2 separate regions of the Homo sapiens genome follow, and region 1 is linked to region 2. Evidence: promoter capture Hi-C in 16 types of primary human blood cells and fetal thymus (Javierre and others, 2016). All regions are on one chromosome and are shown on one strand. Each heading gives the region's core, a stretch centred on a gene start or on the middle of the fragment in contact. The rest is flanking DNA. Distances are from core to core; before and after follow the strand shown. Region 1 has its middle 51 kb from the start of MINAR1. Region 2 holds the start of FAH (fumarylacetoacetate hydrolase).

Region 1 (6,296 bases), core at 2,720-5,219, 770 kb before region 2:
TTCTCCATCCTTGAGCGCCTTGTCATCTTAGCAGAATCCAGCTGGAGAAGGAAGAGGATTGTATAGGGAAGACCTTCTTAAGAGCCTTGGCCTGGAAGTTCCACCCACTGTGACTGCTTCCTTTCTATGGGTGAGAAGTAGTCACATGACCATATGACATGCCTAAGGTCACTGGGTGAGCAGCTGCTTTCTAGGGAGGACTTTCTACTATAGGATGAGGCATGGGAGCTCACAGGTGGGCAGGCAGCCAACTACAACATAAAAGGGGAAGGTTGTTGTAAATACATTCTTTTAATGAGATGAATGCTTGCAAAAACATTATCATATTCCATTGATTAATTTTACTTATGGCCAAAATGTAATATGATTTAGTATCTATTCTATTTTTTCATTTTTATAGATACAAATACTGAGAAACCTTGTTCTCAGAAATATGGAGGTGGGAATAGAAATTATGTTTTAGAATTGTGACTCAATTCTTGGAATTCTAAGTAATATGGCAAAAGTGATATACTTATCTATCATTATCAGTTGATGACGTAATTAGGTCTTTCTGCAATGTTGTTGAAATCAAATAGTTGGAAAACACCTTATTTTCAAATGATGTTTCCCATTCATAAAGTGATTTCTTATTTATATTCCTGGAACATATAACCAAAAAACTTTACCAACATGTATTAAGTGACTATTAATTATACTGTTGCCCCTTTACTCACAGGCACCATATTTAATCAATAAGAGTGGGGAAAATTAAAATTTTACTTTCAGTATGCCTTTGTCAGTCCAATATTATCAAATGTCTTAATTGTCTTGCCTGCTTTGTAAATAATTTTTATCATTATTGAAATCTTAGAACTGCAGATTTAGCTTATTCAGTTGATGGAAAATATCTTCTATATAACCTAATGAGCAAAGCCAATTTCTTGTTGGCAAAGTATTCAGTCACATTAGGTTTACTTTCTTTATTTAATAAAACTAGAAAGGATTGACTTTATTTTTCAATATGTGTTTCAAAAAATAGTATTTTCCAAAGAACAATTAAGGAATAACTTAAAAGCACATCTTGTAAGATATATTACTACGAGCAATCAATAATGAAGTGATATATATCTAATAATTACTCTAATATTACTGCGATGTAAAGTGTGGCTAAAATTTGTTCTTTAAGAAGCTAGGTATATGAGGCATTTATTTGAAAAATGTGTATGTATTTGTGTATTAAACAGTGGTGGCTAGCTTTTTGAAATAATTAACAAATAAGAACCATGTATAAAGTCAGAAATTATTAATCACATTAGATATACTGATCAAACTTTCCTTATGTATTTAATGAAAGTGTATAAATGAATCAGTCTGACAGCTAGCATATAATTTTGTTTTTTCTTAAAAAGAGAGAAAAATATTAAACATTTTATAAGCTGAAATAAGGTAATGGCAGAATAATTGGAATAAATATTTCATAATATGATGTGTTATGTGATAGGTTTTAACTATATTATTGAATGAAACACACCAAATCTGAAAGATCACAAAAGGTTTTTATCTGCAGGAATGAGTCAGTGTACACTGGAGAATTCTGGTAGCTCAGAAAACATTCTTATCATGCTTAAAAGTATCAGCATCACTAAGATGTGCAGGTCCTTGGTATATATATGTCTAAAAGCAATCACTTAAATATTGAGGGAGGGGCCGGATCACGAGGTCAGGAGTTCGAGACCAGCCTGACCAACATGGTGAAAACCTGTCTGTACTAAAAATACAAAAATTAGCTGGGCGTGGTGACACACACCTGTAATCCCAGCTACTCGGGAGGCTGAGGCAGGAGAATCGCTTGAACCTGGAGGTGGAGATTGCAGTGAGCCTAGATTGTGCCATTGTACTCCAGCCTGGGCGACAGAGCGAGACTCTGTCTCAACTATATATATATAGAGAGAGTTATACACATATATATATAAAGAGAGTCTCAAATATATATATAGTTATATATAGTTATATATATAGTTATATATAGTTATATATGTTATATATGGTTATATATAGTTATATATAGTTATAGTTATATATAGTTATATATATAGTTATATATAGTTATATATATGTAGTTATATATATAGTTGTATATATGTAGTTACATATATATAGTTTTATATATATATATATATATAGAGAGAGAGAGGGTATATTTTCTGGGGCTCATTTTTATGTTTTCAGAGGACTCTCCCTCAAGAGTGCTGCTCTACTTGGCAATATTTGGGGGATGGAAGAGGTGAAACCCTTCACTGCGGTACTCTACAATATATCCAAATTCAGAACACTCTAGCACAGGCCAACATAGGCTCCGATGTCTCACTTAGCCTCACAGAAATATCTCCCAGACCTGCAGACACAGACAAATCCTAGACAAGCCTATGATGCTTTGATTAATCACTAATGGAGTTGTCCTTGAAGACAGTATTTTAAATTGTCCCTTTGACATCCTGCAGTTTTTTTACAGCTCAGGGCAATGCACAATAGTAAGATTCAGGATGGATAAGGATGTGTCTTTCTTTTTTGTCCAAAAATGCCATTTTAAAGAGAAGATGGGCAAGGAGACTGTATCTGATCATTCCAATCTGTTTTCAGGCAGATTTTAAGAATGACAGTCGAGGCACCTGGAAATTGATTCCCTTCCAAGTCTCTGTGCAAGGGGTATTCTTGCAAAATCTTAGCTTTTTAGTGCAATTTGATGCTCACTGGTATAGAGTCCCATGCAAGGCGATTGCTACCACCAGGTGGCAGCATCCTCTAGTTGTTGGTGGGCTCTAAGGCAGGAAAGAAACCCAGTTAAGTCTGTAACCTTAACAGCCTTGAACAAATGAACCTGAGCCAAGGCAGAGTGCACACAGACCCCATGAACCAAAGGAGACAAACCCACAACAGACAGAAGCTAAGGTGAATGTCTCTTAGTCTCATTTTCTGCTCACTTCAGCATGAACAGCTTGAGAGATGCACACTTAGCAAAACAGGATGAAGGTTAAAAGGTCCTCTGGAGCGGTAAGGAGGTAGCAGGTGATCTGTAGTCAAACTCCTAATTGTTCCTCTGAACCATTAGCACTTTTGGGCAACTTTTGTCTAGAACAAGTGCTAAATGTCACAGAGGTTTGTTCCCCTGCCCAGTGGTGCCCAGGCTGAGAGGGCAGGTTTAACCTGGTATCTCATCAGAACAGGGACAAAAGAAGACAAATCATATTGGAGCCACTCTCACCTGGCTTGGTCTTATTAGAGCTACCTGCTCTCCCCTGGGGTGATAAACAGTTGCATTTGCCTGATTCTTTCACTGGTTTAAAAGGCTGTGTGTCCTGTGATTGCAAAGTCAACTCAGACTGTTGACTTAACAATGTCAGAGCTGCCCTTCCTGTCCTCAAAGCACCTTCCTTCTTCCTTCCAGAGCTCACTGGGGTCTTAATGCTGTCAGAAGTATCCATATGGACTTAAAAATATTGCATCACAGCCTAGAGGTGACCAGCTCTATCACTAATGAAGAAGCAATTTAAGCTTTTGGGGCCCCAGTTTCCCCATTAGTAAAATCATGTGCATTGTGTACAAAGTAGCTGCTTGAGCGGAGCTTCATTATTCAACAGGGCTTAGATTTTTCTGGACTTTGCAGGAAGAAGTCTCTGCCCTTCTGGGTTTTGTGCTCTGCAGCTATGGACATGAAGATCACCCCATCCTCTCGGCAGTCCTCAGCAACATGAATGGCAGGCCTGTCCTAGGAAGAGATAGACATCAAGGCCACAATGCAAGCCATGCGCAGGTCATGGGTTCATGGTACTGTTGAGTTTTGACTCTTTACTGAGGAACTGAACTGGAATGAACAGCTTAGCAGGCATTATTCCTGGAAGGAACTTTCTAGGGAGGCTATAAGCTGGCTGGACCCCCAGACTCTGCTCTGTGTTCTGCCTCACTGAAAAACAAAATAGTTGTGACTAGCCCTACCTTCTCTTGGCTGACAGTAGTACCTGCTTGGAGCTGCTACTTGCTGATACCCACATGAGCCCAATGCCAGAATGCATAGCTAAAGTTCTGTTGCAAAGGGAGAGGTCATTCTTCCAGTGATGCCTGGCCTGCACTGGCAGCACCTATCCCACAGTGGCCCTCTGGCCTTCCCCAGGCTACCAGAAGCTGTGTCTGCCCTTCACAATTCTTCTGGGTGCTCAGCTCCTTTGGCTCAGAAGTTCACTACCTCTACCCTCTAAACTCCTGGCTGGAAACCTTAATCCCTTTCTCTATGTCCTCCACTTCACTCTGAACTTCTACCAGTATGGCTAATGGCTTTTTCAGCCACCTATCCTTCCTGCCACTCCTCATCCTGAATTTCAATCAGATCATCTACTTGTGAAGTAGTGTTTTCAGATATAGGTGCAGGGAAGCTTCTTTTATATTATCTTTCATGGGTATCTCATACTATTGTTCTTACCAACACAATATAGTCTTTATTCCCATTGACAAAGTCAATTACAAGGGCATAAACACGATTTATTTCTTTTCCAAGGGTCCCAGTGCTTCACCAACACCAACGCCACCACTAAGGGTTCCAGTGTGATCACCATCTGGGATCTACCTGTTCCAACTGCTTGTTTACCTCCTGTGCATGCTCCACGGGACATGGCTCTTTGCCTGTAGATCGCCAGGTACCCACAGCTTTACTGCCATGGTGCACTTCACTTCCTGCCTTGTCCACTCTCACCTGCACCAGTTATTGCTTACGTGGTAATCAGTATAGTCATTGATCTTCAGGGACCATCCAGCTACCCGATTTCCAATGTGGCTGCCTTTGCTATCTTGTTTTGGAAAATGTCTTAAGGCTGTTGAAGATTATATCTATTTGATCCTTTGTGCCCTTAGATGGAGAAAAGAAATGTATTGAGTAGAAGCTCTGAAAGTTTGGAAGGTCCCTCACACCATCCTCAGGTTCAGAGTTTCACTAGATGAAGTCACAGAACTCAGCAAGCCAATTTACCCATGGTTACAGTTTGTTAGAGCAGAAGAATACATTTGAAAATCAACAATAAGAAAAGGTACAAAAGGTAAAGTCTAGGAGAGACCAGGAATGGAGCTTCCCACTTGTCGCTCCCCAGTGAAGTCATACAGACTGCACTTATCTCTCCCCGCAACGATGTGTGACAATATGCCTAGGGTATTGCCAACTAGGGAAGTTCACTTGAGTCTCAGTGTCCAGAGATTTTATTGAGGAATCAGTCACATAGATATGGCTAGCCACCATACGACTGACTTTGATCTCTAGCCCCTCCAGAGATAAAGCTGATGTTGTGTTGTCCAAGGACCTCACCATAAATCTTATGGTTAGTACAGACTATCTGGCATGGCCCAAGGTCCTAGGTTTATAAAGACACTTTTGAAAGCCAGGACATTCCAAGGGCTTAAATGTTACCTTCCAGAAACTGGGGGTAAAGAGCCAAAACTTTCTTTGGGTTAATCCTTTACTGCATAAGCTCTAAGACCCCAATAATTCATGGCCCTATTTCTGGGGCATGATTCAGCCCAGAGAAGAGATCGGAGAAACCTACCTCCCATCATCAAAGAGCTCCTGGATGTTCCATCAAGCAAAACTGTGGGAGGAAATTCAGTGTTCCTATGGAGATGGTGGTGTGACCTGAGCTGGCTCAGAGGTTCTAAAAGCTTCTTCTCAAACATTGGCAAGGTCACAGGTACCCAATAAGGTACATCTTCCCTTTCCTTCAACAGTCCAAAACCTCCAGAACTCTCTCGAGGCAGTGATTAATACTAAACAAAGGACTTGAAGGATAGGAGGGATTCTGAACAGGGTAGAAATAAATAGTAGTGTGGGATATTCGTATAGTTTTCTTGGAAGAGGTAATATTTGAGTAGGATCTTGAAAAATGAGTAGACGTGTAAATGCCACAAGTAAAGGCAAAGATATATACATCATTGTCGGAATAGGAAAGAGTGTGGCACATCTGGGAATGATGAGGGGCCTTATGCAGCTGGGGGAGTCTATTGGTCAGACATGAGGCTGGAAATGGTGCAAGGGCTAGATAGGGAAGGGCTTCATATGCGATGCCAAGAGGCACAGACTATGCTGTGATTCCCTGGCAGTATAGCTGGTGGGACAAAGAGAAATCAAACTCAAAAAGTTCCCCTCTTGTCTACCATGTGTATACTCAAGTAGGTGATGAGATTGTAGGAAGAAGGTAGGATATAATAGCAGATAATTGGGTAGCCATATAGAAAAATCAAATAAAATTTGACCTTTACCTTATAAAACATATTTTTAA
Region 2 (5,913 bases), core at 153-2,652:
TGGCTGTTTAAAAGTGTACCTGAATCATTCACACCAACAATAACACAACGACACACTCTCCGGTGTGTTCCAAGTGTCCTGGCTGTGGCATGGTCTCAAAAAACTGCAGCTGACTGCACATGAGTGATTAGATAACACCTTGAACCCACCCTAAGATAGTCTGCCTTTCCCTTCTTTCCTGTCTTCCTTCTTTTCTTTCTCCCTCTCTCTCTTCTCCTATTTCTCTTTTATCTTTCCTTTCCTTTATCCCCCTCCCCTCCTTTCCTCTTTTTCCCTCCCTTCTCTCTCTTTCCACACACACATAACCTGTATATGCCAGGCACTATTCTAGGTGCTTCACAAATATTAATTCATTCCATTCTTATATCAACTTTGTGAAGTAGGAACTATTATCATCAACATTATACAGAGAAGGAAGCTGAGGTAGAGAAAGTTTAAGTAACTTGTCCAAGGTTGAGCATCTTGTCAACGTCATTTTACTACTGGCATGTGAAACAGGTGAGTTATATTTTTTAGAATATTAATTCTCATTAATTGAAGCCTTCCAAACAGGCCTAACTGTCCCCTTCTCTGACATACAAGTGGAAGTGTCATAGCTGGACGGAGCATCATGGTATGAAGGCAGAAAGGACGCGACTGGGTGTTCTTCTGAAGCTCAGGGAGCAGCTCTTGGGGAGAAAGTGTTTCCAGGAAGCGGACAAGAGTTCTGTTGAGCTGAAGAGCAGGGCAGCAGCCGGGGCGAGCGAGGCTGGAGTCATGCAGGGCAGAGCCTTAAATGCTAAGCTGGGGTTTGCTCTCGGTAGGACCAGCTAGCTGCCCCGAGCGGGGGCTGGAACCAGATCTCCCCCACGTGGACTCGCGGACAGGGCGGGGATCAGGACGGGGGCGGGGCCAGGGGAGGGGCGGGGCTCGGGGAGTGAGGCAAGACTGGAGGGCCTGGGACTCTCGGGTACCCGGGCCAGGGGAGGGGCGGGGCTCAGGGAGGGAGGGAGAGACTGGATGACCTGGGGCTTGCAAGGCGGGGCGAGGGGAGGGGCGGGGCGAGGGGAGGGGCGGGGCTCAGGGAGGGAGGGTGAGACTGTGGAGGACCTGGGGCTCGCGGGGTCGGGGCAAGGGGAGGGGCGGGGCTCAGGGAGGGAGGAGAGACTGGAGGACCTGAGGCCCACGGGGGCGGGGCCAGGGGCGGGGCGGGGCTCTGGAAGGGCGGGCGAGACTGTGGAGGACCTGGAGCTGGCGGGGGTCAGGGTAGGGGGGAGGGGCAGGGCTCGGGGTTCGGGGGCGGGGTGTTCACGGTGAGACCAAAAGTCAGGTAGGAGCCTCCGGGGTCCCTGCTGTGTCACCCGGACAGGCCGTGGGGGCGGGCAGGGGGGCGGGGCCGGGCCTGACCACAGCGGCCGAGTTCAGTCCTGCTCTCCGCACGCCACCTTAGGCCCGCAGCCGTGCCGGGTGCTCTTCAGCATGTCCTTCATCCCGGTGGCCGAGGATTCCGACTTCCCCATCCACAACCTGCCCTACGGCGTCTTCTCGACCAGAGGCGACGTGAGCAGTGGGGCTTTGGCGTCCGGGCGCGGGGAGGGAGTGGAGTGGAGTGGAGTGGAGTGGAGTGGAGTGGAGTGGAATGGAGTGGAATGAGGGGCGGGATGGAGGCTTGTGCCATTTTTCTCTTAAGATTCGTTCCGTGAGAGTGCCTATGGGCTCGAGTCCCGCCTCGTAACTTTCTAGCTGTGCACGTTGTTTAACTTTTCAGCCTCATTGTCCGCAGGTTTGCTGAGAATTAAATGCAAAATGAAATGAATCGTGTCACTCTCCCAGACAAGCAGAGCAAGCAGGATTCTGTTACCGGAAGCTGCAGCACACAGGCATGCTGCCTACTCCGAGGTGGTTGCGGTGTGTTTCTCTCGCCCAAGAGGCCAGGTCAGGGCTGGTGGTTCATCTCGCTGGATAGCCCCTAACCCTAGAACCCGGGAAATGATAACCCGGTATGCGTAGCAGGTCAGAGGGGCACGCGCGTTTCTTGGCTTAGAGTTGTGAGATCTAAGATGGCAAGTGTCTCTGCCTATAGCTGAAATTCTTTCAGCTCCTGGTGTGGGCTCCCTGGCATTCCCCTACTGATCAGAAGAAAGAGGGCAGGGAAACAAACTTTGACTAAGTCAGTGTAGTCTGATTGGTAGAAAGAAGTATTTGAAAACTGGGGGTTTATCAGCAAATAGATAATAAGAGGTTCCCTAGGTTGGAAAAGCAGATTCCCTTGGATTTGTTGATGATATTTTTGGCTTAGATTTCTGCTCCCAACTTTAAAGGTAAACTCCTGATTCATCTCTGTAAGCCATAGAACCCCAGAATCAGGAAATGTTTGCTAAACGAGGGGCCTGGCAGTTGGCTTCTTCTTGGAAAGTGGGGTTCCCTCCTTCCCCCATGGCTTGTCATTGGATGCAAGTGGCTGGCCTTTTGTGGGCCTGTCTGCGGTAAGTGCTTTGGTCTAGAAGAGTCAACTTGTGGTTTCACATCTGGCCGGGCTGACCAGATGTTGCAAGGATACAGAAAGTGGACACTCAATCCCCTGGAGGACACAATCTGAGGCACATTAAATCTTAACTTGTGATGGCCAACAACCTTTCTGCAGACAGAGCCCTCCCTCTGCCCTCCTCAAACACTTTGCCCTCGGCAGATGTGTCCTCCCTCACCTTTCCTGGGAGCACAAATCCATTAGACAGAAACATTTGTGAGAGGCAGGCACACCCCAGTAGGGAGCTCTGACTTGCTTTCTCAGGGGAATCGAATTAATATCCGTTAGAGTGTGGCTAGGTGTTTTCAGACACCATGTCCCGCTGTTTCAACATCAGAATGTGCAGGGCAGCCACTACAGATGTCTGGAAGAGAGAGCCCCATTCCGCTGTCCTCTGATACAGTGCTGGGGGTGGAGAGTTGGCCCTTTGGCCTTCCAGCTGAACAAGCCTCTTCTGAAGCTTTCTCTGCAGGCATTGGACATTCCAACCGTGATGGCTGCCTTGCCAGGCAAGACTAGTTGCCAAGGCAAAACCTCCCTTCCCCCATGTCAGCAGTCAGCCTTTCCTAATTTGAGTGGAATAACAATGAATCCTGCCATCACTTTATTCATTTTTTTTTATTCAGCGAATGCTTATGAACCCCAACTCTGGTCCAGATTTTGCCTGGGCTCCGAGTTGGCATCAAAGACACAGGAGACGCCTTCCTTCCATTTCTGGTTGATGGACTAGTAAGGTGTACAGGGGTGCTCTCTGTGAAGGTAGGGGTGGTGGCCTCTGAGAACGGGGTTGTAGTAGTGTGGAGCTGGTTTTGCCGGGTGCCTTGTTAAAGTCCCCGTGGTCTGGCTGTGCTGCTGCCTCCTGGCCTCTGCTTTCTCCAGCCACATTGGCTGCCTTTGAGTCTCTGAGATGTGCTAAGAGCAGCTTCCTGCCTTCAGGCCTTAGCACATGTTGTTCCTTCTGCCTGGAATACTCGTCCTTCTGCTCTCTATATGCTTGGCCCCTTCTCACTCTTTGGGACTCAGCTTAAATGTCACCTCCTAAGCACCCTCTCTGAATGAGCTCCCCGCTGCGGCCCAGCCTTGGTTATCTCTCACCACACCCTGTGTTTCCTTTTGCTTCTGGAGAGAAGGAACCACGTCACTGTTCCCAGGGCCTCAGCAGCCTTTGTGTAATGCTGGTACTGAGAAGATGCTCTCTAAATCTTTGTGGCATGAATAGCGTCTACCCTGTGTCTGTTCTTGTGGTGAGAGATTTACAGATATTAATTAAATTCTCACAATAAACCTACTGTGAAGTTATTGTCCCCATTCTACAGATGAGGAAACTGAGGTCCAGAGAGGCAAAGCATCATGCTCCAGATCTCACAGCCAGTAAGAGGCAGATATGGGGTTGATCCCCACATCTGTCAGCCTCCCAATCTGTAAGGTCCAGCCCTACGGGGCTTAGCGGGTTTTCTCCCTGTGTGCGGAAACGAGAGATTGTAAGAAATAAAGACACAAGACAAAGAGATAAAGAGAGAACAGCTGGGCCCGGGGCACTGCTACCACTGAGACACAGAGACCGGTAGTGGCCCCGAATGGCTGGGCACACTGATATTTATTGCACACAAGACAAGGGGGGCAGGGTAGGGAGGGTGAGTCATCCAAGTGATTGATAAGGTCAAGCAAGTCATGTGATCATGGGACGGGGGCTCTTCCCTCTAAGGTAGCCGAAGCAGAGAGGGAAGGCAGCATAAGTCAGCATTTTCTTCTATGCACTTATAAGAAAGATCAAAGACTTTAAGACTTTCGCTATTTCTTCTACCGCTATCTACTACAAACTTCAAAGAGGAACCAGGAGTACAGGAGGAACATGAAAGTGGACAAGGAGCGTGACCATTGAAGCACAGCACCACAGGGAGGGGTTTAGGCCTCCAGATGACTGCGGGCAGGCCTGGATAATATCCAGCCTCCTACAGGAAGCTGGTGGAGCAGAGTGTTCCCTGACTCCTCCAAGGAAAGGGAGACTCCCTTTTGCGGTCTGCTAAGTAATGGGTGCCTTCCCAGGCACTGGCGTTACCGCTTGACCAAGGAGCGCTCAAGCGGCCCTTATGCGGGTGTGACAGGGCTCACCTCTTGCCTTCTAGGTCACTTCTCAGAATGTCCCTTCAGTACCTGACCCTATACCCACCGGTTATTCCTAGGTTATATTGTACTACAATAAAGAGTAATATTAAAAACTAATGATTAATAATGTTTATACTAATAATCGATAATTGTCCATGATCATCTGTATATCTAATTTGTATTACAACTGTATAGCAGTATAGCTACAGTTTATGCCTTCAGTCTCTTGCCTCGGCACCTGGGTAATCCTTCGCCCACACCAATCCCATGCTTCCCCCTCTATGTCAGGCTGGGAGTTGGGTAATGCTTTCCTTTGGACAACTTTATATCAGATATGACCAACTATTTTAAAACAAAGGCAATGCACATTCATTCTCTTGAAGTTAGACAAATGCGGTCTCCCTCCTTAGTTTGTTTCCCTCAAGTTGCAGATGGGAAACTGAGGCCCAGAGACTTGTCCAAGGTGATAAGATGGTGAATGAGGGAGCAGACTTGGAGCCCAGGAATCCTGGATCTGACCTGTGAGCCCCCTCTAGTTTTGTGCTGAAGAAAATAACTCCCAAGGTTGAAAGTAGAGGGACTCACTCTCTCAGACTTTTTCTGGGTCCTCAGGTCATAGTTTGAAGCACAAGTTTGAAGCTTCTAGGCTTTGTTTGCATTTGAGGCAGCAGGCAGCTGCACTTGTGACCCCATTTTGGAAGTTGCTTACTGGTGGTGACTCCTTCTTGCCTTCAGCTGGGGTGTGGGGACCAGGGTCAGAGATGTGGTCCAAGGGTCTGCCCTGCACATTCCCTGAATGGAAAGCCACTTGGATTCAGGTGGTTCAGCTCTTTGCCTAAAGCAGATTTGCCATTTTCAGGAGGGGAAGACTGAGGCCCAGGGAGTTGGCAGTGGGGCTGAGAATGAGTAACTAAGCTCTCCAGGCAGCCTCTTCTAGGGTAGGCTCTGCTGGGACCTCAGATGAGGAGTATGGCTCTGGTCTACCCCGATTCCAAGAGCTGACATGCGTGGAGAAATGGTCATCTTTTCTCAGCCCACCCCAGTGAGCAGCCAATGGAGATAAGGCCAGCCAATAATCCCACCACTAAGCTCGCTGGCACTGAAATGGCCAAGCTGGTGGTTCAGGAGAGCTGGAAGCCTGGCTCAGGACAGAGCCCTGGGAAGTTGAGTCTGCAAACATGCCCTCGGGTTCTTGTTGACGAGCAAAGCTCAGGGTTGTGGGGACAAAGACCAGGACTTAACAAATATTTAAGACATCTTTGTTGATGCTGGGATTTTGTGGTACAGAAAGGAACTTGCCT

Evidence for each region. Contacts are between HindIII fragments. The CHiCAGO score rates a contact against its expected background, and 5 or more counts as called.
Region 1: a contact is called between a fragment that was not itself captured here and the fragment with the promoter of FAH in region 2, in 1 of 17 cell types (activated CD4 T cells). The highest score is 5.5, in activated CD4 T cells.

Annotation. Positions count from the first base shown.
Region 1 is chr15:79,378,437-79,384,732 of GRCh38, forward strand. It overlaps a transcript of TMED3 not described here. Among named protein-coding and RNA genes, the nearest start is that of MINAR1, 51 kb to the right of the region's middle. RefSeq lists a silencer at 2,691-2,740 and an enhancer at 2,831-3,040. The HindIII fragment of the contact is 875 bases long and covers 3,533-4,407 here.
Region 2 is chr15:80,151,597-80,157,509 of GRCh38, forward strand. It overlaps FAH (fumarylacetoacetate hydrolase), which reads left to right and starts at 1,403. Exons shown (of 14, transcript NM_000137.4): 1 at 1,403-1,539. The coding sequence starts at 1,459. RefSeq lists a silencer at 832-1,391. The HindIII fragment of the contact is 7,995 bases long and covers 1-2,964 here.